7 separate regions of the Homo sapiens genome follow, and regions 1, 2, 4, 5, 6 and 7 are each linked to region 3. Evidence: promoter capture Hi-C in 16 types of primary human blood cells and fetal thymus (Javierre and others, 2016). All regions are on one chromosome and are shown on one strand. Each heading gives the region's core, a stretch centred on a gene start or on the middle of the fragment in contact. The rest is flanking DNA. Distances are from core to core; before and after follow the strand shown. Region 1 overlaps PPP2R3A (protein phosphatase 2 regulatory subunit B''alpha). Region 2 overlaps PPP2R3A (protein phosphatase 2 regulatory subunit B''alpha). Region 3 holds the start of STAG1 (STAG1 cohesin complex component). Region 4 overlaps PPP2R3A (protein phosphatase 2 regulatory subunit B''alpha). Region 5 overlaps PPP2R3A (protein phosphatase 2 regulatory subunit B''alpha). Region 6 overlaps MSL2 (MSL complex subunit 2). Region 7 overlaps PPP2R3A (protein phosphatase 2 regulatory subunit B''alpha).

Evidence for each region. Contacts are between HindIII fragments. The CHiCAGO score rates a contact against its expected background, and 5 or more counts as called.
Region 1: a contact is called between a fragment that was not itself captured here and the fragment with the promoter of STAG1 in region 3, in 16 of 17 cell types (fetal thymus, non-activated CD4 T cells, erythroblasts and 13 more). The highest score is 14.7, in fetal thymus.
Region 2: a fragment that was not itself captured here is called in contact with the fragment with the promoter of STAG1 in region 3 in 1 of 17 cell types (M1 macrophages); the score reaches 5.5 in M1 macrophages.
Region 4: a fragment that was not itself captured here is called in contact with the fragment with the promoter of STAG1 in region 3 in 5 of 17 cell types (erythroblasts, total B cells, fetal thymus and 2 more); the score reaches 5.7 in erythroblasts.
Region 5: a contact is called between a fragment that was not itself captured here and the fragment with the promoter of STAG1 in region 3, in 8 of 17 cell types (naive B cells, erythroblasts, fetal thymus and 5 more). The highest score is 6.9, in naive B cells.
Region 6: a contact is called between a fragment that was not itself captured here and the fragment with the promoter of STAG1 in region 3, in 12 of 17 cell types (non-activated CD4 T cells, total CD4 T cells, fetal thymus and 9 more). The highest score is 11.5, in non-activated CD4 T cells.
Region 7: a fragment that was not itself captured here is called in contact with the fragment with the promoter of STAG1 in region 3 in 3 of 17 cell types (erythroblasts, fetal thymus and non-activated CD4 T cells); the score reaches 6.8 in erythroblasts.

Annotation. Positions count from the first base shown.
Region 1 is chr3:136,089,982-136,093,542 of GRCh38, forward strand. PPP2R3A (protein phosphatase 2 regulatory subunit B''alpha) reads left to right here. Exons shown (of 14, transcript NM_002718.5): 10 at 597-686. Among named protein-coding and RNA genes, the nearest start is that of MSL2, 100 kb to the right of the region's middle. The HindIII fragment of the contact is 1,747 bases long and covers 734-2,480 here.
Region 2 is chr3:135,967,980-135,971,041 of GRCh38, forward strand. The region is part of intron 1 of PPP2R3A (protein phosphatase 2 regulatory subunit B''alpha); the gene reads left to right. Among named protein-coding and RNA genes, the nearest start is that of PPP2R3A, 3.8 kb to the left of the region's middle. The HindIII fragment of the contact is 2,582 bases long and covers 129-2,710 here.
Region 3 is chr3:136,750,818-136,754,023 of GRCh38, forward strand. STAG1 (STAG1 cohesin complex component) reads right to left here and starts at 1,561. Exons shown (of 34, transcript NM_005862.3): 1 at 1,378-1,561. It overlaps STAG1-DT (STAG1 divergent transcript), which reads left to right and starts at 1,854. Exons shown (of 1, transcript NR_185911.1): 1 at 1,854-3,206. RefSeq lists silencers at 885-1,264, 1,585-1,814 and enhancers at 1,006-1,937, 1,825-2,144, 1,938-2,869. The HindIII fragment of the contact is 7,208 bases long and covers 1-2,899 here.
Region 4 is chr3:136,110,100-136,113,426 of GRCh38, forward strand. All of the region lies in intron 13 of PPP2R3A (protein phosphatase 2 regulatory subunit B''alpha), which reads left to right. Among named protein-coding and RNA genes, the nearest start is that of MSL2, 85 kb to the right of the region's middle. The HindIII fragment of the contact is 6,501 bases long and covers 1-3,327 here.
Region 5 is chr3:136,049,699-136,053,193 of GRCh38, forward strand. All of the region lies in intron 5 of PPP2R3A (protein phosphatase 2 regulatory subunit B''alpha), which reads left to right. Among named protein-coding and RNA genes, the nearest start is that of PPP2R3A, 86 kb to the left of the region's middle. The HindIII fragment of the contact is 1,382 bases long and covers 1,482-2,863 here.
Region 6 is chr3:136,151,040-136,154,466 of GRCh38, forward strand. MSL2 (MSL complex subunit 2) reads right to left here. Exons shown (of 2, transcript NM_018133.4): 2 at 1-1,699. The coding sequence ends at 108. Among named protein-coding and RNA genes, the nearest start is that of MSL2, 44 kb to the right of the region's middle. The HindIII fragment of the contact is 9,097 bases long and covers 1-3,427 here.
Region 7 is chr3:136,129,637-136,132,887 of GRCh38, forward strand. The region is part of intron 13 of PPP2R3A (protein phosphatase 2 regulatory subunit B''alpha); the gene reads left to right. Among named protein-coding and RNA genes, the nearest start is that of MSL2, 65 kb to the right of the region's middle. The HindIII fragment of the contact is 3,281 bases long and covers 168-3,251 here.

The DNA.
Region 1 (3,561 bases), core at 357-2,856, 660 kb before region 3:
ATTATTAGTTCTGAAAGCGTTTTGGCTTAGTTTTCAGGCTTTTCTAGGTATAGAATCATGTTGTCAGCAAAGAGAGATAATTTGACTTTTCCTATTTGGATGTGTTTTATTTCTTTCTCTTGCTTGATTGCTCTGGCTAAGACTTCCAGTACTATGTTGAATAGAGTGGTGAGAGTGGTCATCCTTGTCTTGTTCTTGTTCTTAAGGGGATTGCTTCTAGCTTTTGTCCATTCAGTATAATGCTAGCTATGTGTTTGTCATAACGGCTCTTATTATTTTGAGGTATCTTCCATTGATGCCTAACATGAGTATTAATCCTATATCTAAATACAGGTAACAGCATTTTATCCCAGTGATTATTTGCATTCATATTAAAAGCCAGATTTCTTTTCTTCATATTTGCAAATGCCTTCTGGTTTCACCCTCTAGACCTTTGAAAATAAGATAGGCTGTGGAAGGGTTGCCCTTTATGAGGCATTTAGCATTATAATTTAAAAAATTTTAACTGACATACTACTTTATTTCTTAGCCTATCATCCTGATAAATGGTTCTGAGTAATTGCTCAGGAAATTTTATAACCATGTGTTTTCTTTAGGGGAAAAACAATACAGAAAGAGGGAAGAATGAGCTATGCAGATTTTGTTTGGTTTTTGATCTCTGAAGAAGACAAAAGGAATCCTACCAGGTATGATTTCTAAGTTTCCTTTGCCAAGATGTTAAACACATGCACAAAGCTTGAAAAAGTCATGGTGTATATTATACCTAGTGAGGCCAACTCAACGTGGCAATACTAAGATGAATTAGACTTAGTTTCTGCCGTCTCGGAGCTCTCCGTCTCAGGAGATTGGCACTGAATCCATGTTCATGGCATATCAAGAGAAGTGCTGTTACCCACAGAAACAAAGGTGAAGTGACATGTAAGCTGATGACAAGTAGGGCTAGTAAGCATTCATGTGGAATATGGGAATAGATGCTATGAATTACTTGTTTTATCATCTTACTGGTTGAATGGTAAACCATTACTATTAGAGAGGGAAAGCAAATTGTGGATGACTAGTATATAAGAACACATCCTCAGTCTGCCAGTTGAAATCATCTATGCTTTTCCTTGGCACTCCCAGACATAGCTTGATTGGAGTTATTAATTTACACATTTCTTTCTTTCCATGTCTTGTTTAGGCAAAAAATCTAGATGCCTCGCTTCTTATCCCTACTTTGTGTAACACAACGCACTGTAGTTTGTGCTCAGTACCAAGGGATGGAGGGGTTATAGACCTTGATGGTACTTGCAGGTACAGCTAACTCAACTATCTTAATATTGATTCGAAAAGTTATCTAAATGTTGTATATGTCCAGGTATGGTGGCTCACATCTGTAATGCCAGAACTTTGGGAAGCCAAGGCAGGAGGGATTGCTTGAGGCCTGGAGTTTGAAATCAGCCTGGGAAACATAACGAGACTCCATCTCTACAGATAAATGTTTTAAATAGCTGGGAATGGTGATGCACACCTGTAGTCCTAGCTACTCGAGAAGCTGAGGCAGGAGGATCACTTGAGGGCAGGAGTTTGAGGCTGTAGTGAGCTAGGATCATGCCATTATACTCCATCCTGGGTATAGTGAGCAGGACACCAACTCTAAAAAAATAAATGTTGAATATATTGTTTAGAAGATGTTGAAATAAAAATAAGCCATTTCTTGGAGAGCTTGTTAGATTATTTTTAAATAACTTTGTTTTCCATTTCAAAAGTAATAATTTATTTAGAAAACATGAATGAGCAGAAGAAAAATAAATTTTAATACCAGTAATTTTAATACCCAGAAAAAAATATTAAAAGTTCATATATATGCTACTCTTTTTCATATACCAGCAGAGTAGAGTATCTCTTATCTGAAATTCTTGAGATCAGAAGTGTTTCAGATTTTGGATTTTTTTCAGATTTTGAACTGTTTGTTACACTTACCAGTGAGCATCCCAAATCTGAAATCCAAAATTCTCCAGTGAGTATTTCCTTTGAGTATGAGTTTTGAGTGTCTTGTTGGTACTCAAAAAGTTTTGGATTTTCAGCTGGGTTGCAGTGGCTCACACCTGTAATTTCAGCACTTTGGGAGGCCGAGGTGGGCAGATCACCTGAGATCAGGAGTTTGAGACCAGCCTGGCCAACATGATGAAACCCTGTCTCTACTAAAAATGTAAAAAATTAGCCAGGCGTGGTGATACATGCCTATAATCCCAGCTACATGGGAGGCTGAGGCAGGAGAATTGCTTGAACCCAGGAGGCAGAGGTTGCAGTGAGCTGAGATCGCACCATTGCACTACAGCCTGGGTGACAAGAGCAAAACTCCATCACCAAAAAAATATATATATTAAAGATCTAAATGAAATGAAGACATCCCATGTTCATGGATCATTGTTAAGATGGCAGTAATTCCCAAACTGATCTACAGATTCCTAACAAAATATTAGTTAGTTTGAGTCAAAAGCTTTTTTTGTTTTTCGATGGTTTTTATTTTTTTTCCAGAAATGGAAAAGCTGAATATTAAATTCCTATGGAAATACAAAGGGACCACAGTAACCAAAACAATGCTGAAAAAGTACAGAAAAAATGTAGGACTCATATTTCCCTATTCCAAAATATTTCACTACAAAGTGAAAGTAAACAACTCTGTGTGGTACTCGTATCATGATGGACATAAAAATAAACAAAATTGAATTGAGAGTTCAGAAATATATCCTCACATTTAGGGCTAATTGATTTGCAACAAGGATGCTGGATGCCAGGACGATCCAATGGGGAAAAAAAACAGTGTTTTTAATAAATAGTGCCGGAACAACTGGATATCATACAAAATAATATTAGGTTGGTGCAAAAGTAATTGTGGTTTTTGCAATTTCTTTTGGTGGCCAAAACTGCAATTACTTTTGTACCAACCTTACCTTTGGACCCCTAGTTCACATACTACAAAAATTAAGTCAAATGGATCACAGCCCAAAATGTATGAGCTAATGCTATAAAAAATTCAGAAGAAAATAGAGGAGTAAATTTTCACGACCTTGGCTAGGCAGTTTCTTAGATGTGACACCAAAAGCATAAGTATCAAAAGAAAAAGTCAATGAATTGGACTTCATCAAAATTTTAAATTTTTGGCTGGATGTGATGACTCATGCCAGTATTCCCAGTACTTTGGGAGGCCAAGGCAGGTGGATTGCCCAAGCTCAGGAATTCAATACCAGCCTGGGCAACATGGTGAAACCCCGTCTCTACCAGAAATACGAAATGTAACCAGGCACAGCGGCACGCGCCTGTGGTCCCAGCTACTTGGGAGGCTGAGGTGGGAGGATCACTTGAGCCTGGGAGGCAGAGGTTGCAGTGAGTTGAGATCACGTCACTGTACTCCAACCTGGGTGACAGAGTAAGACCTCATCTCAAAAAAAAGAAAAAATTAATACTTTTGTGCATCAAAAGATATGATCAAGAAAGTAAAAAGACAACCCACAGCATGGAAGAAGATATTTGCAGATGATATATATGATAAGGAACTTGTATCTAGAACATATAAAC
Region 2 (3,062 bases), core at 170-2,669, 780 kb before region 3:
AGACATCGCAAATGTCCCCCAGGAGGACCAAAATCACCCTTAGTTAAGAACCACTGTTGTGAGCAGACTGCTGCCTTAACACTAGTGACGCAGCATTGTCCTCATTTGCTTAGGTGTTTACTATACTAAGCTTGAGGGCGGGAACAGTTATTTATTTAACAGATTTCTGAAGGCCTGTTTTGCCAACTGGACACTAGATTAGGTATGGAAATAGATTAGTAAAAACAACTTTGCATGCCTGGACCTTATAGTCTAAGGAGGGTGACAGATGTATACATGCATAAATATACATTTATCTCATTACGATTGTGTTAATTTCTGGGAGAAGTACAGGCAGCTCTGAGTGCATAAAACAGATGTCCTGATGTAGTTTGGAAACTGGGGAAAGTTTCCATGGGGAAGTGACCTTTGAGGTGGACGGTGAAGGATTAACAGGAGTTACTAGGTGAAGCTCACGGGAACAATATTCCGGGCAGAAGGAACAGATGTGAATACCTTGAGGAAGAAAGGAACAGGGCCGCTTTTGGGAACCCAGAAGCCAGGAACACGGAGAGTGATGACACAAAATGAAGCTAGGAAAATAGGCAAAGGCTGTCCACTAAGCAGTGGTTCTCAGTCCAACACTCTCATCAGAACCACCAGAACTTAAGACCGACGCCTGGGCCCTCCTCCAAGCAAATCAGAGCATTTTTGGTGGGTTCTGCTCCCTCCCCCAGCTACCATTTTCCCTGTCTTCCAAAGGAATAACCACTGATACTAGTTTTGTATATCATTGTAGACATTTTTTGTGGGCATTCAAGGAAATGCATATCTTTCCTCTTACTGTTTTACACAAATGGTAGCATACTGTACACTCTGTTTTCTTAAAAATGTCTTGGGAATCTTTCCACTTCAGTATATAGTTTCCTTATTTTTTTGAATGACTGTACAGTATTTCACTGTATGGATATACCATAGATTATTTAACCATTCCCCCACTGACAGACATTTAGATTGTTTCCAGTAATTTACCGTAAACAGTGCTACGAATATGCTGTTTCATATGTGAATAAATATATTTATAGGGTAAATTCCTAGAAATGGAATTGTTGGGTGAAATAAACACACAAACACATATATTTACATAAGTATATATTTATGTAATGCGTGTATATGTGTATATATTTGTAATTATTTGTGATTATAAAATATTCTGGTCATATTAGAATGCTTTGGAAGGAAACAAGATTGAGTGTGGGAGACAGCTGCCCCTAATTAAGGTTACTGTGGATAACATAGGAGAGAAAAGGTGGTGGCTGAGAGAAAAGAATGGTCGTATTGGAGATGGAGAGAAGTACATATATTCATGAGATATATTTAGGAGGCGTAATTGATAGGATTTGGTGGTTGATATGGTACAAGGGTTGAGAGGGAGAAATGAGATCCTAAGATGACTCCCAGGGTTCTAGCTTGCCCAACCAGTGAATGGTGGTGGTGTTACCTGAAGTAAAGAACATTTAAGGATAAATAGTTTTGAGATGAGTTTAAATCACAGTTTACATTGGGACTGCTGAGATTTTCAAGTGAGAGGTCACATAAGCATTTGACAATTCTAATTCAGAGCCAAGAGCAGAGGGCTAAACTGGAGGCACGAATTTTTAGGTGTAAATTAAAGGCTGTGGATGAAATTATCTAGGGCAGTGGTTGCAAAGCAGTAGCCTACAGCTGAATCTGACTCACAGATGTTTTGCCCATACAGTGGTTTTGTTATTGTTTAATTTTGAATTAGTTGCCAATATTTTAAAATCTGAAGATTTCTCATGAAAAATCCAGATTTGGGGTTTCTCTTTAAAAATGAGAAAATGTAGCACTACTGAGTTGGTTTTCCAATATGGCAGCAATAATTGGAGCTAAGTCACAGATGATCGCAGCTCTTCTATTTCACTACAGAGCCCACCACTCCCTAAAATTATGCCTGGCCCACTTTGCTCATTTATTTCTCTGACTGTAGGCTTTTGAGCATGTGATCCCTGGTCTGGGAAGAGAGCATAGAACAGTGTTCTCATCTTGGTTGCACATTGGAATCACTGAATGATTAAAAAATGCTAATGCTGTGGTCCACCTAAGAAATTTCTTTTTCTGTTTACTTGATCTGATTTGCTGCCTTGGACGAATCTGAGGTGATTCCACTTAGCTGTGGAAGTTGAGAACCACTGACAGAGATTAAGAAAAAAGGGCTCAGGCCCAGCATTTTGAAGTTTAGTAGAGGAGGATAGCCCAGGAAGAGAATGAGAAGTGGCCACAGAGGTACAGTGGAATGACGCCTTGCTCAGAATTAAAGTGTGCAAACTTAACTGAATGCGCTCTACCATGTTTTTTATTAAATGAGAGAGAGAAAAGTTTTATTTACTTGTATACAGGTGTGCGATATTTAACGGGCCATTTAAAGGATTTTCAAGAGTAATTTAAACAATATTTGGTTTTTGTCTTAGCTGTTTCCTTCACAATCTAATTCTAGTTTAAGATGCATCATAAAAGGTGAGAGAAGAATGTTTCAAATAGAGAGGTGTCATCAAGTAAAGATGTGGAACAAAAATGATCTGTTGAATTTAGCAAGATGGAGTCTTTGACCTCAGCAAGAACCATTTTAGATTGGAAGAGGCAGAAACCAAAATGAAGTGGGTAAAAAGTAAGGAAATGGGAGTGGCAAGTGTTGGAAATTCCTTTGAGAAGCTTGCCCAAAAAGAGGAAGTGGTGAGGGAGGATGAGGTGTCTTACATGCCTACAATGTAGGTGTTAGTCTGTTGGTTACTCAAACATTTCTCCTAACTTTTTAGGGATGTAGGTCAATGGTGTCTGATTACCCCTCTCCCACGTTCTTAGGGGTCTTGTTTTGGAGACTACTTTTTACTGAGAAGAAATTTTGCCAGGACTGTTGAAGGGGCTGACTCAGATGTTGGTGATTAGGCCACAAGTTTCTTTCTCAACTGGAAAGCTGTAGAGCTCCTAAAGGCCAGTGGTGATCTGGGCTCCAGTGACCCTGACATCATCCTCCCATTGAGCTGATGAACAAAGACTATATT
Region 3 (3,206 bases), core at 311-2,810:
TGGTTAAAATTTTTCAGTCTGAATTCCTCATACATTATGAATATTAGAACAAGGTACGTTACATTACCATACAATAAACAAGTTATTTTTATTTTCACTCTTCTGTATATTTCCCTAAGTGCTTCACCATCGGAATGTGCAATTTTCTTAAAACACGAGGAAAACTAAAATGTAGAGTCATTCAAATTCCAGATAAGTTACAAATCACACAACTTTGTGCCAATTCAGATACTTTCTCAAGTAAACACTATTTTTGCGAAGATGCAAGTCTTTCTAGTCAGAATCACGAGAATAAACTCTATCCATCTTAACACCAACTTTAACAGCAAATAATTTTTTTTTATGACAAATTGCGTTTTTTTTTTTTGTTTTTTTTTTGTCTGTAAGTGTCCAAAACTATCCTATGACTTATACTCCCGGAGCACGATTCCCTGCAATGTGAAGAGAATCGACAGATAACATTTCAAATGTGGGTAGATGGGGGTGACGTGACAATCCTAAAACCTGAAAATTTCTTAGTACCCATACCATACAAGAAGAACCCAGTTCGGACCCTGCAAACGGGGCTCAGGTCCAACTCCAAGCACTCTAGTTTCCCACCCCGCCCCCACCTCGAGAAAGGAGGGAAAACAACTTTTATTGGCCTCGTCTCTCAGGGGACTGGCAAACTAGCGGGGCAGTGCTTAGGCCTGGACACGTTTCACAAGGAGGCCCCCGTCGGGGGCTGAGAGGGCAGATAGCTGGAAAGCCCAGCATTGATGCATCTCCCCCAGCCGCCACCCCGCTGCCCCACCCCGCCAACAAGAAGCCTGGGCCAGCCGCCCCGCCGAGCGACCCCCCAGGCCCCTCCGCTGAAATGAACTCGTTGTCATGTGACGCCGCCGCCGCTAAAACACCGCAGAAACGCAGGTCGGCAGGCGGCGGAAGGCATTCGCGCCAGCCCGCGTCGGCCCGGCCCCGCTGGGCGCGGGCGACTCCCGAGAGCCCGGGCGGGGGGGGGCGGAGGGCGGGCTTGGCGGCGGGCCCGAGCGCGCCACAAAGGCTTCCGCGCCTGTCGCCGTAGTGCCCGGGCGGGCGGGGGCAAAATTTTTGGTGCCCGCGGGAGGGGTGGCAAGCGACGAAGACGCCGGGGTGCCCACCGCGCCCACAGACGTCTCTCCGGGCACTCGGACGGCCCACGACCGCCGCACCCCGCACAGGCCCGCGCGGCCTCCCTCCCCCGCACGGGGCCCGCGCCCGGCCCGCCCGCTCGCCGCTCGCGCTCTCTCGCTCTCGCCCGGCCTCCATCTTGGATCGGCGCTTCCAGCCCCCGCGCCGCTGCCGCCGCATTCCCCCTCTTTCCCGCCCCCCGCCGCCGTCGCCGCCGCCCGCACTCACCTCAGCTGCCCATCCGGGCGCCGCCGACCATCGACCTAGTTTCCCCCCAAAAGTCTCCGGTGTGTTATTCCCGATGTGGGGGGGTTGTTACGGGGTGGTCGCCGGGGGTTCGGGAGCGGGGGCCGCGCCTTCAACGGAGCTGCAATCCTAACCCGCCATCTGGTGGCATTTTCCACACGCCAATGGCGCCGCTGCAGACTTGGGTCCGGACCGCCCTCTGCTGGCCGCGGTGCTCACTGCCTTGCTGACGGGACGGGCCTGCCCGGAAAGGGGAGGGAGCTGAGGCGCGAGCTAGGGGCCGCGGCAGGGGCGCGCGCAAACGCTTTCCAGTGGGGATTGCGCGCACGCGCACCAGCGGGGCGGGAAACGTGGCCGCTGCGTGGCGGCCCCGCCCCCACACGGAGCGCTCGCGCAGTTCAGCCAATCGCGAGAGGCGTAGGCTTCTGGATAAGGGCGCTGTGGACGGTTCTTGGGCCGCCCGCGGCTGGCGGAAGGACGGCCACGGTGGCGCCTGCGCGTCCGGCTCGCCGAGTTGCCGCCCGCCATTTTTGGAGCTTCTTGGAGATCTAGGCAGGAACCCGCCCCGGGTTCCTTCACCGAGGCTCCTCCCTAGGTCTCAGGGCCGGCGCTTTCCTCTGTTCCCGCCCGGCTCCTGCTGCCCCCATCCGCAGCTCTCGAGACGCCCTGCGGAAACCCGAGGGTGAGGCCGCGCAGATCCCTGCTCCTACTTGGATTTAGCAAGGGCCTCAGAGCTTAGCATTGTATTCGCGATTTACGGCTGACAAGCGCTTTCACCAGGCAAGAGTGAAAAGGTTTCAAAAGGACTATTGGGGACTTCCCTCGCCATTAATCTAGACGAAACACCGCCGGCCCTAGGCCGATTGGCGTCATCCTGCCTCTGTAAAGCACATCTTTCCGTGGTGTCGGCTTTGCATAAGGCGGCAGCATTGGCTAGTTTGTGAGAGGAGAATATAACTAGACTGAGAAGATAGACTCAGCTGTGAAAGTGGATTTCTCCCTCCACAACCTAGGACTACTTTCAGTAGCTCTGAAATACACATGAGAATCTTAGCCTTCTAGATGCCAAAAGAGAAATAATCAGTAAGGTGAAATCATTAACAAACTATTTATGTTTAACGTCGCCTCTTCCCTGATCTCCACCTGCCCGTCCGTGGCCATGGATCCCTACCTTTCACCTGCTTACAACTTTTCACCACAAAAGTGAATCCTTACTCTCCTGGATCATTAGCCCCATATATGACTAACTTCTCTATCGCTATAGCCAACTCTATTTCAGTATGGAATCGCTCAACTACTTTATAGTCTTAAGGGCCTGTCTCCAGTAGGTTACCCCTATTTGTGTTTTCTCTCTCAAGGGTTTGCAAGATGTGTGGCTTTTCGCTGGAGGAAGTCATAACTGACCAGATTGGATATGAATTCGTGACTGGACTCCTACTTATAATTTTCTTGCGTTTTCTTCTAATCTCTGGCTGATCTCCTATTTTCCACAAAGACTGTTTCAAGCTTTCCATGTTGTTAAAGATGCCAGTCCCAGTCCATACTAATAGATAAATTCATCCAGTTTCCTGGGCTCAGAGCTATGGGACTCCAATTCCGGTTTGACCTTGCCTCCATTATAAAATATCTGTGACCACCTCCTGTTCGTGATCCCAAAACTTCTAACCAAATTAACCCAGAACCCTTCTCTCCAAAGCCACTCCCTCTGCCTGAAACTATGCCATCCCTTCCCACCTTCTCCTTCCACCACTACTTTCCTAGCGCCTTATAATGTAAATATGTTCTTATCCACTGTCTTCTTCCTTTCTGTT
Region 4 (3,327 bases), core at 454-2,953, 640 kb before region 3:
GTCCCCAACTCATATCCCTGTTCTCATTAAAAACCCCAACAACCCCACCGCCCCTTCCTAAGCAGCCAGTGAGAACAGAAGCAGCAGTCTGTTCTCAACTACTTAAAAGGTGGACAAATATCAAACAGTTAAGAAATATCAATGAAATACTCAACAAATGGAAGAACTTATACCCTTGGAAGGAGACACAATCAGAACAAGACATCAAAATGAGCATATTTACTATTTTCAAAGGAATAAGAGAGAATATCACACTCCTAAACCAACACTAGAACCAGTTTCTTAGAAATGAAAGTTTTATTAAAAAAAAAATGCAGCCATTGGACTGAATAATAGAATGGAAAAAACTGAAAAGTTTTTGATTTGGGATACTGGCGTAAGAAATCCTCTTTGGAAGCAATAGAAATAATAGCTTAATAATTCCGAGAATTTTAGTTGTTTGAGCAAATAAAAAGATACACAGGAGAAGGAATCAGCAATTTTTTTCTAACCAGTTATAAATACTTGAGGCTTTGTGGGCCTCTGCCACAACTAAGCAGCCATTGATAATATGTAAGCAAGTGTATGTGGCTATGTTCCAATAAAACTTTAGTAACAGACACTGAGCTATTCATTTCATATTATTTTCATGTCACAAATATTCTTTTGTTTTTCAAACTTAAAAATGTAAAACTATTTTTAGCTCACAGGCTGTACCAAAGCAGATGGCAAGATAGGTTTGGCCCACAGACTATAGTTGTCAACCTCTGTGAGTGAAATTTCAGAATACGAAAGATAGGAAAGGTCTGAAGATCTACCAGAAAGAAAAAAACATTATCCATAAAGTGTACACAAAAAGAAATGGAACAAAATTATTCAAGTACTGCAAAAAAAATAACTACAAACCTAAAATTCTGTTCTTACTCAAATGTGAGGGACAAATAAAGACATTTTCAGGCTTGTAAAAAGAGGTGCAAAAAGTATACCACAGAATATCTCTGAAACAAATATTAAATGATATTCTTCAGCAAGAAGGTAAATGGATCCTAGAGGAAACAGTGGGAGGAAAGAAGCAATTGTGAGCAATAAAAATAGTAAAAATTATTCTTAGGACTAAATAAGTATTGATCACAGATATATAAGAGAGAAAAAGGAATTGGAGTAATATCCTATGGTTCTTATTTGTATAAGAGTAGAGAAATATAGACATTGATAAAGTTGTATTTCTCCAACAATGGTTAAAGTATGTCTGTTAAAAATTTAAGATATTTTCACTAGAAGAATAAAAATAAAATGGAAAACTTTCATATCAGTTTCAGAAAAAGGTTATTAACTGAAAAAAATTGAGTAAAAACTCAAACTACTTGAAAGTACATTAATCAGCATTCTTCTGGTGGCAAGTTACCTAAACTCCGCTCAAAGTAGCAATAAGCCAAACTTCTTCATACATACAAACTAGAAAACTTAGAAGAAATTGATAAATTCCTGAAAACATACAACCTCCTAAGATTGAACCAGGAATAAACCGAAACACTGAACAGACCAGTAATGAGTTCTGAACTTGATCAGTAATTAAAAAAAAAAAACTACCAATCAGATAAAACCCTGGACTAGACAGATTCACAGCCAAATTCTTCCAGATGTATAAAGAAGAGCTGGTACCAATCCTGCTGAAATTATTTCAAAAAATCAAGGAGGGACTCCTCTCTAACTCATTCTGTGAGGATAGCATCATTCTGATACTAAAACCTGGCAGACACAATAAAAAAAACTTCAGGCCAATATCCTTGATGAACATACACACAAAAACCCACAACAAAATAGTAGCAAATTAAATTCAGCAGCACATCAAAAAGCTAATCCACCACAATCATGTAGGCTTTATTCCTGGGATACGAGGTTGGTTCAACATATGCAAACCAATAAATGCAATTCGTCACATGAATAGAACAAAAAACAAAAACCACATGGTCATCTTAATGGACACAGAAAAGGCTTTTGATAAAATTCAGCACCCCTTCATGTTAAAAACCCTCAACAAACTGGCATCTAAGGAACATACCTCAAAATAATAAGGGCCATCTATGACAAACCCACAGCCAGCGTCACAATGAATGGGCAAAAGCTGGAAGCATTCCCCTTGAGACCCAGAAGAAGATAAATATGCCCATTCTCACCACTGCTATTCAACATAGTGATGGAAGTCCTATCCAGAGCAATCAGGGAACAGAAAGAAAACTCATCAAAATAGGAAGAGAGAAAGTCAAGCTATCCGTCTTTGCAGATGATATAATTCTATACCTAGAAAACCCATAGTATCTACCCAAAGGCTCCTAGATCTGATAAACGACTTCAGTAAGGTTTCAGGATACAAAATCAGTGTACAAAAATCAGCAGCATTTCTATACACCAACAGCATTCAAGCTGAGAGCCAAATGAAGAGCACAATCCCATTTGCAATAGCCACAAAAAGAATAAGATACCTGGGAATAAGGGATGTGAAAGATCTCTCTACAACAGTAATTACAAATCACTGCCAAAAGAAATCACAGACAACATTAAAAAATGGAAAAACATTCTATGCTCATGGATAGCAAGAATCAATATTGTTAAAATGACCATGCTGCCCATTGTGCTCGTGGACAGGAAGAATCAATATTGTTAACATGGGCATACTACCCAAAGCAATCTACAGATTCAGTGCTATTCCTATCATACTACCAACATCATTTTTCAAAGAATTTGAAAAAAACTATTACAAAATTCATATGAAGCTGGGCGCGGTGGCTCATGCCTGTAATCCCAGCACTTTGGGAGGCTGAGGCAGGTGGATCACCTGAGGTCAGGAGTTCAAGACCAGCCTGGCCAACATGATAAAACCCCGTCTCTACTAAAACTACAAAAATGAGCCAGGTGTGGTGGCAGACACCTGTAATGCCAGCTACTCGGGAGGCTGAGGCAGGAAAATCGCTTGAGCCCAGGAGGTGGAGGTTGCAGTGAGCTGGGATCACACCACTGCACTCCAACCTGGGCAACAAAAGAAAAAAAAAATCATATGAAACAAAAAAAGCCCGAATAGCCAGAGCAACCCAAAGCAAAACAACAAAGCCAGGAGCATCACACTACCCAATTCAAACTATACTACAAGGCTGCAGTAACCAAAACAGCATGGTGCTGATACAAAAACAGACACACAGACTGCGTGGAACAAGATTATATGGAACACCAGTGGAACAGATTAGAGAACTCAAAAATGAAGCACACCTACAACCACCTGTTTTTTGACAAAGTTGATAGTAAGCAATGAGGAAAGAACTCCCTATTCAATAAATGGTGCTGGCTAATCAT
Region 5 (3,495 bases), core at 923-3,422, 700 kb before region 3:
AGAAGATAACTTCTCTGTTAGCGTAGAACATAGCTAAGAACCTGGTAGAAAGAAAGAAAAGGTCATGATGTAACCAGGATCACTCTCACGAACTCTGGGGTCTTCACTCACTGCCTCCTGACCCATTATTTAAGTACAGTTTTTAAATGCTTGGTTTCCTGATTCTTCAACCCAAGATATATTTGAAACAGAAAATTAGAATAGGAGAAGGGAAAGAGGATAACTAGAATCAAGTGCATGGAGAGCTGCAAAAAACAGACTACACCACCAGACTACAAAGGTAGTGAGGAGAGTAAGAAACACTAAGAGAAAAAAAAGACCCAGAAGCTCTAAATGTACTCTAGTGTGGGAGTAATTTAGGATAATGGCAGTAGTCCCAATCCCATTACCAGATTTCAGCTGAGATTAGTAATTTATTTTAGTAGCATAGACTCTATATGTACTTATCTAGAAAACTCATTTATAGGGAGCAGCTTTCACTGATGGAACCAGATAAAACAATGGCACTGTACTTCTCATTTTTCCTTTTCTGTGTATGAAATTTTAAACTCTGTGTGTTGTATATCCATATATTATACATGTAAAAAAAGGATAAGTCTCAGACCTGAATAAACGTCAGATCTATCAGAAGTATAAGTTTCTGGATTTGAATTTCTAACTTTAGCCTTCGTTTACCAGGTTGGCGGATATTTTTAACCTCAGACCTTCCTGAGGTTTCTCAGCCTGGAGCTGTGCCACAGTTCTGAGGTCTTACACGGTACCAAAGCATTAGGGTTGGGAGTTACTGCTGAGACATCAGCCATCTTTGGCTAGCAGATTCCCTTCAGATCCAGAGGTCTTTGCTGCTTCTGTGCCACGTGTCAAGCCCCAGAACCTTTGGTGAAGATACCCATGGCCCGTCTGCCTAGATGCACACACAGCTGTTTTCTTTTAAGGTTTTAGCTGCACCCCTAGGGTGTTGCCAGGCAGCAGGGTCCCTTTGCTCCTATCACCCACAGACTTCTCTTTCTTTTTCCTGACACTAAGAGGTCTTCTACTCTGCAGAAATCTCCTGCTGCCATGTTCCCTTATGCTTTCCTATCTCTGCCTTCAATTCTCCTTGCTTGTATTGTCTGCTTCCCTTTCAAGTAGGGGTGAGCTCCCTACTCACTACTTCAGGGCAGAGAAGAGAAGTGACCTCAAAATCTTCATGGCTTTTATGGCACTGTGCGTATTGTAGGCTTAAATGCAGGGTCCACAGTCATTTGGCCTAGTTGACCTTTGTTAAGGTTTTAGAGAGAGAGAGATGTCTAACAGAAAGAGCCCACCTGGGGAGTGTTTCTATCTAGGCCTTCCCATGGGAATCAGTTACATATCAGTATTGCACCTGTTTCTACTATAGCATTCTTCATAGCCTGAGATATTGCTTGTTAATATTCTTGTTTTCGTATCTAAATATTTGGTTTTTCTAAGCAGATCACAAATTCTTTGAAGCTAAGATAAGCTTTTCCTGCCTGTTGAATGTGCATCATTATTTTAGGTGTTACAGTAAATCCTTGTTAGCTCTTAGTATGGATACCTAAAGAAGGGCATAAAATACATGGAAATAGTTGAGGTTTTTTTAAGTTGTATTCATGGCTGCCATGTTTTGTTGTTGTTTGTTTTTTTGGAGACGGAGTCTCGCTCTTGTCGCCCAGGCTGGAGTGCAATGGTGCGATCTTGGCTCACTGCAGCCTCCGCCTCCTGGGTTCAATTGATTGTCCTGCCTCAGCCTCCCAAGTAGCAGGGATTACAGGCACCCACCACCACACCCGGGTAATTTTTGTGTTTTTAGTAGAGACTGGGTTTCACCATGTTGGCCAGGTTGGTCTCGAACTCCTGACCTCCGGTGATCCACCTGCCTCAGCCTCCCAAAGTGCTGGGATTACAGGCATGAGCCACCACACCTGGCCATGCCATGATTTTTTAAAAAGATTTTTGCTGAAATATAATCACACAAAACACCCAAATCACAGGTGTCCTAGTCAATGAATTTTCACAATGTGGGCATATCCGTATAACTAGCACACAGATCCAAAAACAGTATTACCAGCACCTGCAAAGCCTGTCATGCTCCATCCCAGTCACTGCCACCCAACAATAACCACTACCCTGACTAATAACACCATAGTACATAGACTTTTAATTATAGTAACAATCTTCCATGTTTAAAATGTGAAGTTTGGTTCTGATTTTATTTTATGCTCAGGGCCCTTGGGCTTGTCTAATTTGCATAATGGCTTTGATTATCCTTAGACTCACCTGCTACATGGTTTTGTTCCCCTAAAAAAAATACTCATGAGAATGAAGATTCTTAATAGTTTTTGGCATTTAATTAAGACCATTTTACCTGATAATATCCAACATTAAATATTCCTATGTTTTGTGAAATCTCAAATCTTCAATATTTGAACTGCATTGTAATAAAACATTAGGTTTTATTACCAGTTCTCTACTGCTCTCCATCCTCACTCTCTCAATCCATTCTTGGCCTTGCTCTGACCCTACAAAGTGCGTCTTTGGGGCTCTCTTGCTGACTAGCTTTTGGTTGGATCTGGGCAGTGGGAAGCATTGCCAGTAAATGGGAGGACAGAGGAAAGAAAAGCTGGCATTTCTTCCCTGCTCTCTGCCTCGGCACAGTAACTATGTCTCTCTACAATACAGCTTCTGCTGGACAGCCCCTTGTCTGTGGTCCTAGTGCCTACTAGGCTCTCCTCCTCCCCTTGTTCCTTTGGCCCTCAGGACTATAACAGTATCCTCCTGTCAGTAGTCTCTGGGTGCCTCATTATTCCCTTGTTTGCTCCCTTCATCCTGCTCACAACTCCACATGTAATCTTTTCGTGAAAGCTTCATACAGTGAATTCTTTTTCCTGTGGGGACCCTATGCTGACTGATGCAGTTCTGAATTTTATCAGAGCTTTAATAAAAGCTTTGACAGGAATGTAAATTAAGTTTAGACTAAGAAAATTAGAAACAGACAACAACAAAATCATAATTATGAGTTAACAGACATTTATACTTCCCTTAAATCTAAGGAGAAATCTTATTTGTATTTAAGAAGTGGACTTGTGGAGTCTTCTGGTAAAAGAGACAAACTAAATAGAGACATTATCCTCCCATTCTTTCCCAAGCCCTTCTGAAGTTAAAGTGTAGAAATTAAAAAGGAATAAATCCACGGAAGCCAATGAAATGGTAGAGAAAATCAACGTACAAGAAATCTTAACATATTTCTTTAAGATAGAAAGTGACCACATGTCTTGTGGGACTGTGGATGGAGCTGGAGGCCATTATCCTTAGCAAACTAATGCAGGAACAGAAAACCAAATACCACATGTTCTCACTTATAAGTGGGAGCTAAATGGTGAGAACTTATGAAAACAAACAAGGAGACAACAGACACTGCGGTCTACTTGAGGGTGGAAGGTGGAAAGAGGGAGAGGAGCAGAAAAGATAACTATTGGGTACTGGGCTTAATAC
Region 6 (3,427 bases), core at 243-2,742, 600 kb before region 3:
AAGTGATCTATATGCAGGAGCTCCGGCAAGTTAAACCAACAGAACCATAGCTGCCGTAAAACTGTAGCTATTTCCCTACCAGGAGTAGGTTTAAAAGACCCACTGATTTAACAGTCGAATCTCATGTCTATAGCTTCATCCAAACTTTTATCATCATGTGTACTGGCAGCTAAAAACGTCGTTACTGGGGACCCTGTGACATTTATTACACTGGTGCTGGTACTAGCGTTACGCACAGCAATGCTAGTCACGTTAATGCCCAAAGTGAGCCTGGTCTGCTCCAAGGCCTTTTCTGGCACGGCAAATGCCTCCAGCTTCTTCTCCCCATTGGCCATATAGGAGTTTTGGCAGCCACGACATATACAATCTAAGCAGGCTTTGCGGTTAGAGTAGCAAGGGCAGCGTTGGCCTCGGCATGTAAGAACACTTGGATTTTGAGTAGCACGCCCACATTTACACCCTTTCTTTTCCTGGGGTTTTTTGTACACAGTCTTGGTAGGACTTCCTGGCATAAAATGATGACTAGGAATCTTTTCCTTTACTGCTTTGTCTTTTTTAAGAATACCTGGCTTGGTTTTAGAGTGAGATTTCTTGGATCCATGTTCATGACTCTTTTTCATGCTTTTAGTAGATAAAAGTACAGTTTTGCTGATTTTAGGTGTTGTGCCTCCATTGGGAACAGTTGCTATAGGTTGAAGAGAAATTTTGCTCTCCCGTTTCACTGTCACAGGAGCAGATGCCCCCAGTGTTGGGCCTCGGATAATGGTAGAAATTGGAAGTGGCTGAACTTTCTCACTGTCACTCTCTGATCTGGATCGTTTTCTATTCAATTTTGCTATCTTCGGAGTTGCTGCTGTACATGATAACCCATGAAGTGCAGGACTGGTGGACATAAAAACATTATGGCTAAGAGACTGGGAAGAAAGCTGCAGAAAAGGTCCATTGGATACAGTGGCTTCCAAGTTCGGCTGCAAATTAGGGCAACAGACCTCTGTATTTGAAACAGTTTCTAAGCTGCGGAGTACTTCCTCAACACTCAGTAACAGAGAGTCTCCAGGTTTTATATCTTCACTGAAACTGCAGATATCAATGCCTGTGGAACATAAGTCAGTGGCTACTGTGTCACAAACGGGTGGCAGGCTGTCAGACAGATCCTCAGTTTTTATGTCAACAGTATTACATACGTCAATCGTATTTGAATGTTCAGGTGAAGGAATATTTATACCAAATCTATCTATTGAAAGCCCATTATAAGTAGGCAAACCATTGATAACAGAACTGCCAATAGCAATGCTGAGGGTGCTTTCAGACATTGGAGATAAACTAGCTTGAGGATCAGTTGTGGGTTCTGAGGTTGAAGGTAAAGGGGAATGTGTCAAACACAAAGTAAAGGATGAATCTGAGGGTTTTTCTGTCTCCTCACAAAACAATGATCCATCATTAAGCAAAGCCAAAATATCAGAAGAACAGTCAACTGCTTCTATTATATCCCGTGCCAGTGTAGTCTGTGTTATATACTCGCATAGTTTTTTGTAGCAGTTCACTAGGATGCTTAACTGCTTGTTTTCCTCAAACTGCTCATAGTCTTTGCACCAGCTACAGGAAGGTTTCATCATCATTTTCTTGCCTTTACAAGTTTTGCAGACATAATGTTGGCAGGTGGAGTTGGTGGGTGCAATAGGATCTTGTAGCAAATGTCCTAAGGGGGAGAAGGAGGAAAGCAAAGATTTTAGTAAAATAAATTTACCATTTCATAAACTGAAGTTTAGATGACATAAGTAGTCTATCAAAATTGAGATGAATTAAACTCACTAGACCAGATAACAGAAAATATATCTTAGAAGAAACGGAAGAATCTTCAATTAGCTCGCTTGATTTCATGCCATATTCCCCATTCAGTTATCTCAAACCAAAATCATCCTTGATTCTGTGTCTCTCTCCCCAAGCAATACGTTCTGGTCCACCTTCTTATCCTCTTCCTCCAAAGGCTATAAAGTTAAAGAGGTGAAGATCAGACACCAGAAGCACAAACTAGGGTTAAAACCCTTTGGATAGCCAGGTGTGGTGGTGTGTGCCTGTAATCCCAGCTATTCAGGAGGCTGAGGTGATGGCTTGAGCCCTAGAGTTCAGGCTACGGTGAACTATGATCTTGCCACTGCACTCCCGCCTGGGTGACAAAGCGAGACCCTGTCTCAAAAACAAAACCAAAACCCTTTGGACCTCAACCTAACACAACATGGCAATGCTACAACATGCTGAACAAAATCATATTGATTATTTTTTGCTGGACACTGGGGAAACAGATATGAGTAAGAGAGATTTAGTCCCTGCCCTCATAAAAGATAGTCTTGAGGGCATTCATCAGTAGAAAAGTATCTTCACAGAAAAAAAAATTTTTTCAACCAGTTTTTAATGCATATATACTAATCATAAACTTTAAAGAAAAAAGATCAAAATGTCATTTCAGGCCGGACACAGTGGCTCATGCCTATAATCCCAGCACTTTGGGAGGCTGAGGTGGGCGGATCACCTGAGGTCAGGAGTTCAAGGCCAGCCTGGCCAACATGGTAAAACCCCATTTCTATTAAAAATACAAAAAAATTAACCGGGCATGGTGGTACGCACCTGTAGTCCCAGCTGCTAGGGAGGCTGAGGCAGGAGCATCACTTGAACCCAGGAAACTGAGGTAGCAGTGAGCTGAGATCACACCACTGCAATCCAGCCTAAGCAATAGAGCGAGACTTAGTCTCAAAAAAAAAAAGGCCAGGTGTGGTGGCTCATGCCTGTAACCCCAGCACTTTGGGGGGCTGAGGTGGGCAGATCACCTGAGGTCAGGACTTTGAGACTAGCCTGGCCAACATGGTGAAACCCTGTCTCTACTAAAAACGCAAAAATTAGCCGGGCAGGGTGATGGGCACCTGTAATCCCAGCTATTCAGGAGGCTGAGGCAGGAGAATCCCTTGAACCCAGGAGGCGGAGGTTGCAGCGAGCTGAGATTGTGTCACTGCACTCCAGCCTGGGCGACAAGAGCAAAACTCCGTCTCATTTAAAAAAAAAAAAAAAGGAGTTTCAGTAGGAGAGAACTATGTTCAACTACATTAAAACAAAGAAAAAAGGAGTACTACTCAACTCAAATTCTTCTAGAAAAAAATACAAAATGGAAAAAATTATATTTAAACTTATTAAAGAAAACAAAACTAGGGTATAATACTGGGCTCAAATTCTTCTGACAGATTTCAAAACGACCATGGTTTAATTATAAACCACAAGTATCCTAACTGCGACAATACAGTATAATGAAGTAGTCCCCCGACTTGACACAATTCTCAAATTATCAATGACATATACATACAAACCAAGAAGGGAAAGGAACTAGACCCAGTTCCCATCTCCACTCTTACTCTCCAAAGCTGCAACTGCTCCTTGG
Region 7 (3,251 bases), core at 558-3,057, 620 kb before region 3:
AAAAGAGGGAATCCTTTCTAACTCATTTTATGAGGCCAGCATCATCCTGATGCCAAAGCCTACCAGAGACACAACAAAAAATGAGAATTTCCGGCCAGTATCCCTGATGAACATCGATGCAAAAATCCTCAAAATACTGGCAGGCCGAACCCAGCAGTACATCAAAAAGCTTATCCACTATGATCAAGTCAGCTTCATCCCTGGGATGCAAGCCTGGTTCAACATACGCAAATCAATAAATGTAATCCATCACATAAACAGAACCAATGACAAAAACCACACGATTATCTCAATAGATGCAGAAAAGGCCTTCAACAAAATTCAACAGCCCTTCATGCTAAACACTCTCAATAAACTAGGTATTGATGGAACATAATCTCAAAATAATAAGAGCTCTTTATGACAGACCCACAACCAGTATCATACTGAATGGGCAAAAACTGGAAGCATTCCCTTTGAAAACCGGCACGAGACAAGGATGCCCTCTCTAACCACTCCTATTCAACATAGTATTGGAAGTTCTGTCCAGGGCAGTCAGGCAAGAGAAAGAAATAAAGGGTATTCAGATAGGAAAAGAGGAAGTCAAATTGTCCCTGTTTGCAGATGCCATGATTGTATATTGAGAAAACCCCATCGTCTCAGCCAAAAATCTCCTTAAGCTGATAAGCAACTTCAGCAAAGTCTCAGGATACAAAATCAATTGTGCAAAAATCACAGGCATTCCTATCTACCAATAACAAACAGCCAAATAATGAGTGAACTCCCATTCACCATTGCTATAAAGAGAATAAAATACCTAGGAATCCCACTTACAAGGGATGTGAAGGACCTCTTCAAGGAGAACTACAAATCACTGCTCAATGAAATAAAAGAGAACACAAACAAATGGAAGAATATTCCATGCTCATGGATAGGAAGAATCAATATCATGAAAATGGCCATACTGCCCAAAGTAATTTATAGATGCAGTGCCATCCCCTTCAAGCTACCAATGACTTTCTTCACAAAATTGGAAAAAACTACTTTAAAATTCATATGGAACCAAAAAAGAGCCTGCATTGCCAAGACAATCCTAAGCAAAAAGAACAAAGCAGGAGGCATCATGCTACCTGACTTCAAACTATACTACAAGGCTTCAGTAACAAAAACAGCATGATACTGGTACCAAAACAGATGTATAGACCAATGAAACAACAGAGTCCTCAGAAATAACACCACACATCTACAACCATCTGATCTTTGACAAACCTGACAAAAACAAGAAATGGGGAAAGGATTCCCTATTTAATAAATGGTGCTGGGAAAATTGGCTAGCCATATGCAGAAAGCTGAAACTGGATCCCTTCCTTACACCTTATACAAAAGTTAATTCAAGATGGATTAAAGACTTAATTAAGTTAGACCTAAAACCATAAAAACCCTAGAAGAAAACCTAGGCAATACCATTCAGGACATAGGCATGGGCAAGGACTTCATGATTAAAACACCAAAAGCAATGGCAACAAAAGCCAAAATTGACAAATGGGATCTAATTAAACTAAAGAGCTTCTGCACAGCAAAAGAAACTACCATCACCATCAGAGTGAACAGGCAACCTACAGAATGGGAGAAAATTTTTGCAATCTACCCACCTGACAAAGGGCTAATATCCAAAATCTACAAAGAACTCAAACAAATTTACAAGAAAAAAACAACCCCATCAAAAAGTAGGCAAAGGATATGAACAGACACTTCTCAAAAGAAGACACCTATGCAGCCAACAGACACATGAAAAAATGCTCATCATCACTGGTCATCAGAGAAATGCAAATCAAAACCACAATGAGATATCATCTCATGCCAGTTAGAATGGCAATCATTAAAACGTCAGGAAACAACAGATGCTGGAGAGGATGTGGAGAAATAGGAATGCTTTTACACTGTTGGTGGGAGTGTAAATTAGTTGAACCATTGTGGAAGACGGTGTGGCGATTCCTCAACGATCTAGAACTAGAATTACCATTTGACCCAACAATCCCATTACTGGGTATATACCCAAAGGATTATACATCATGCTGCTTAGACACATACACACATATAAACATATTGTGGCACTATTTGCAATAGCAAAGACTTGGAACCAACCCAAATGTCCATCAGTGATAGACTGGATTAAGAAAATGTGGTACATATACACCATGGAATACTATGCAGCCATAAAAAAGGATGAGTTCATGTCCTTTGCAGGGACATGGATGAAGCCGAAAACCATCATTCTCAGCAAACTGCCACAAGGACAGAAAACCAAACACCGCATGTTCTCACTCATAGGTGGGAATTGAACAATGAGAACATATGGACACAGGGCGGGGAACATCACACACCAGGGCCTGTCAGGGGGTGGGGGGGGCTGGGGGAGGGATAGCATTGGGAGAGATACCTAATGTAAATGATGAGTTGATGGCTGCAGCAAACCACCATGGCACATGTATACCTATGTATCAAATCTGCACGTTGTGCACATGTACCCTAGAACTTTAAGTATAATAAAAAAAAAACGAATGCCTTTTTCCTGAGATCAAGAACCAGGCAAGGATGTTTCTATTCCTCACTGTTTCTACTCAACAATTGTAACTGGGGGGTCCTAGCCAGGGCAGTAAGGCAAGAAAAAAACTTTTTAAAGGCATTCAGATTGGAAAGGAAGATGTAAAACTGTATATTCACAGATGATGTGACCTACAAATTGAAAACTAAGGAATCTACATAAAAGATACCAGTGCTATTAAGTGAATTAGCACAATCTCAGAATACAAGCTCAATACACAAAAATCAGTAGTACAGTATTTCTATATACTAGCAATGAGCCCCTCCAGTGATGAAATTGAAATAAAAAGAATAATTCTATTCACAGTCATATCAAAAAGAATATGAAAAATAGGAATAAATATAATAAAATAATAATACTTGTACAATGAAACTAAAAAAACAATGCTGAGAGAAATTAAAGAAGACCTAAATAACTGGAAAGATTAGAAGGCTCAGCGTTGTTAAAATGTCAATTATCCCCAAATCGATGTACGGATTTAACATAATCCCTATCAAAATCCCGGCAGACTTTTGGTGTAGAAATTAGTAAACTAATCCTAAAACTTGTATAGAAAATGAAAAATATCTAGAATAGCCAAAACACTTTTTTAAAAGAACAAAGTTGAAGGACTAGATTACCTGATTTCAAAATGTACTGTAAACCAATCATCAAGACATTGTAGCAC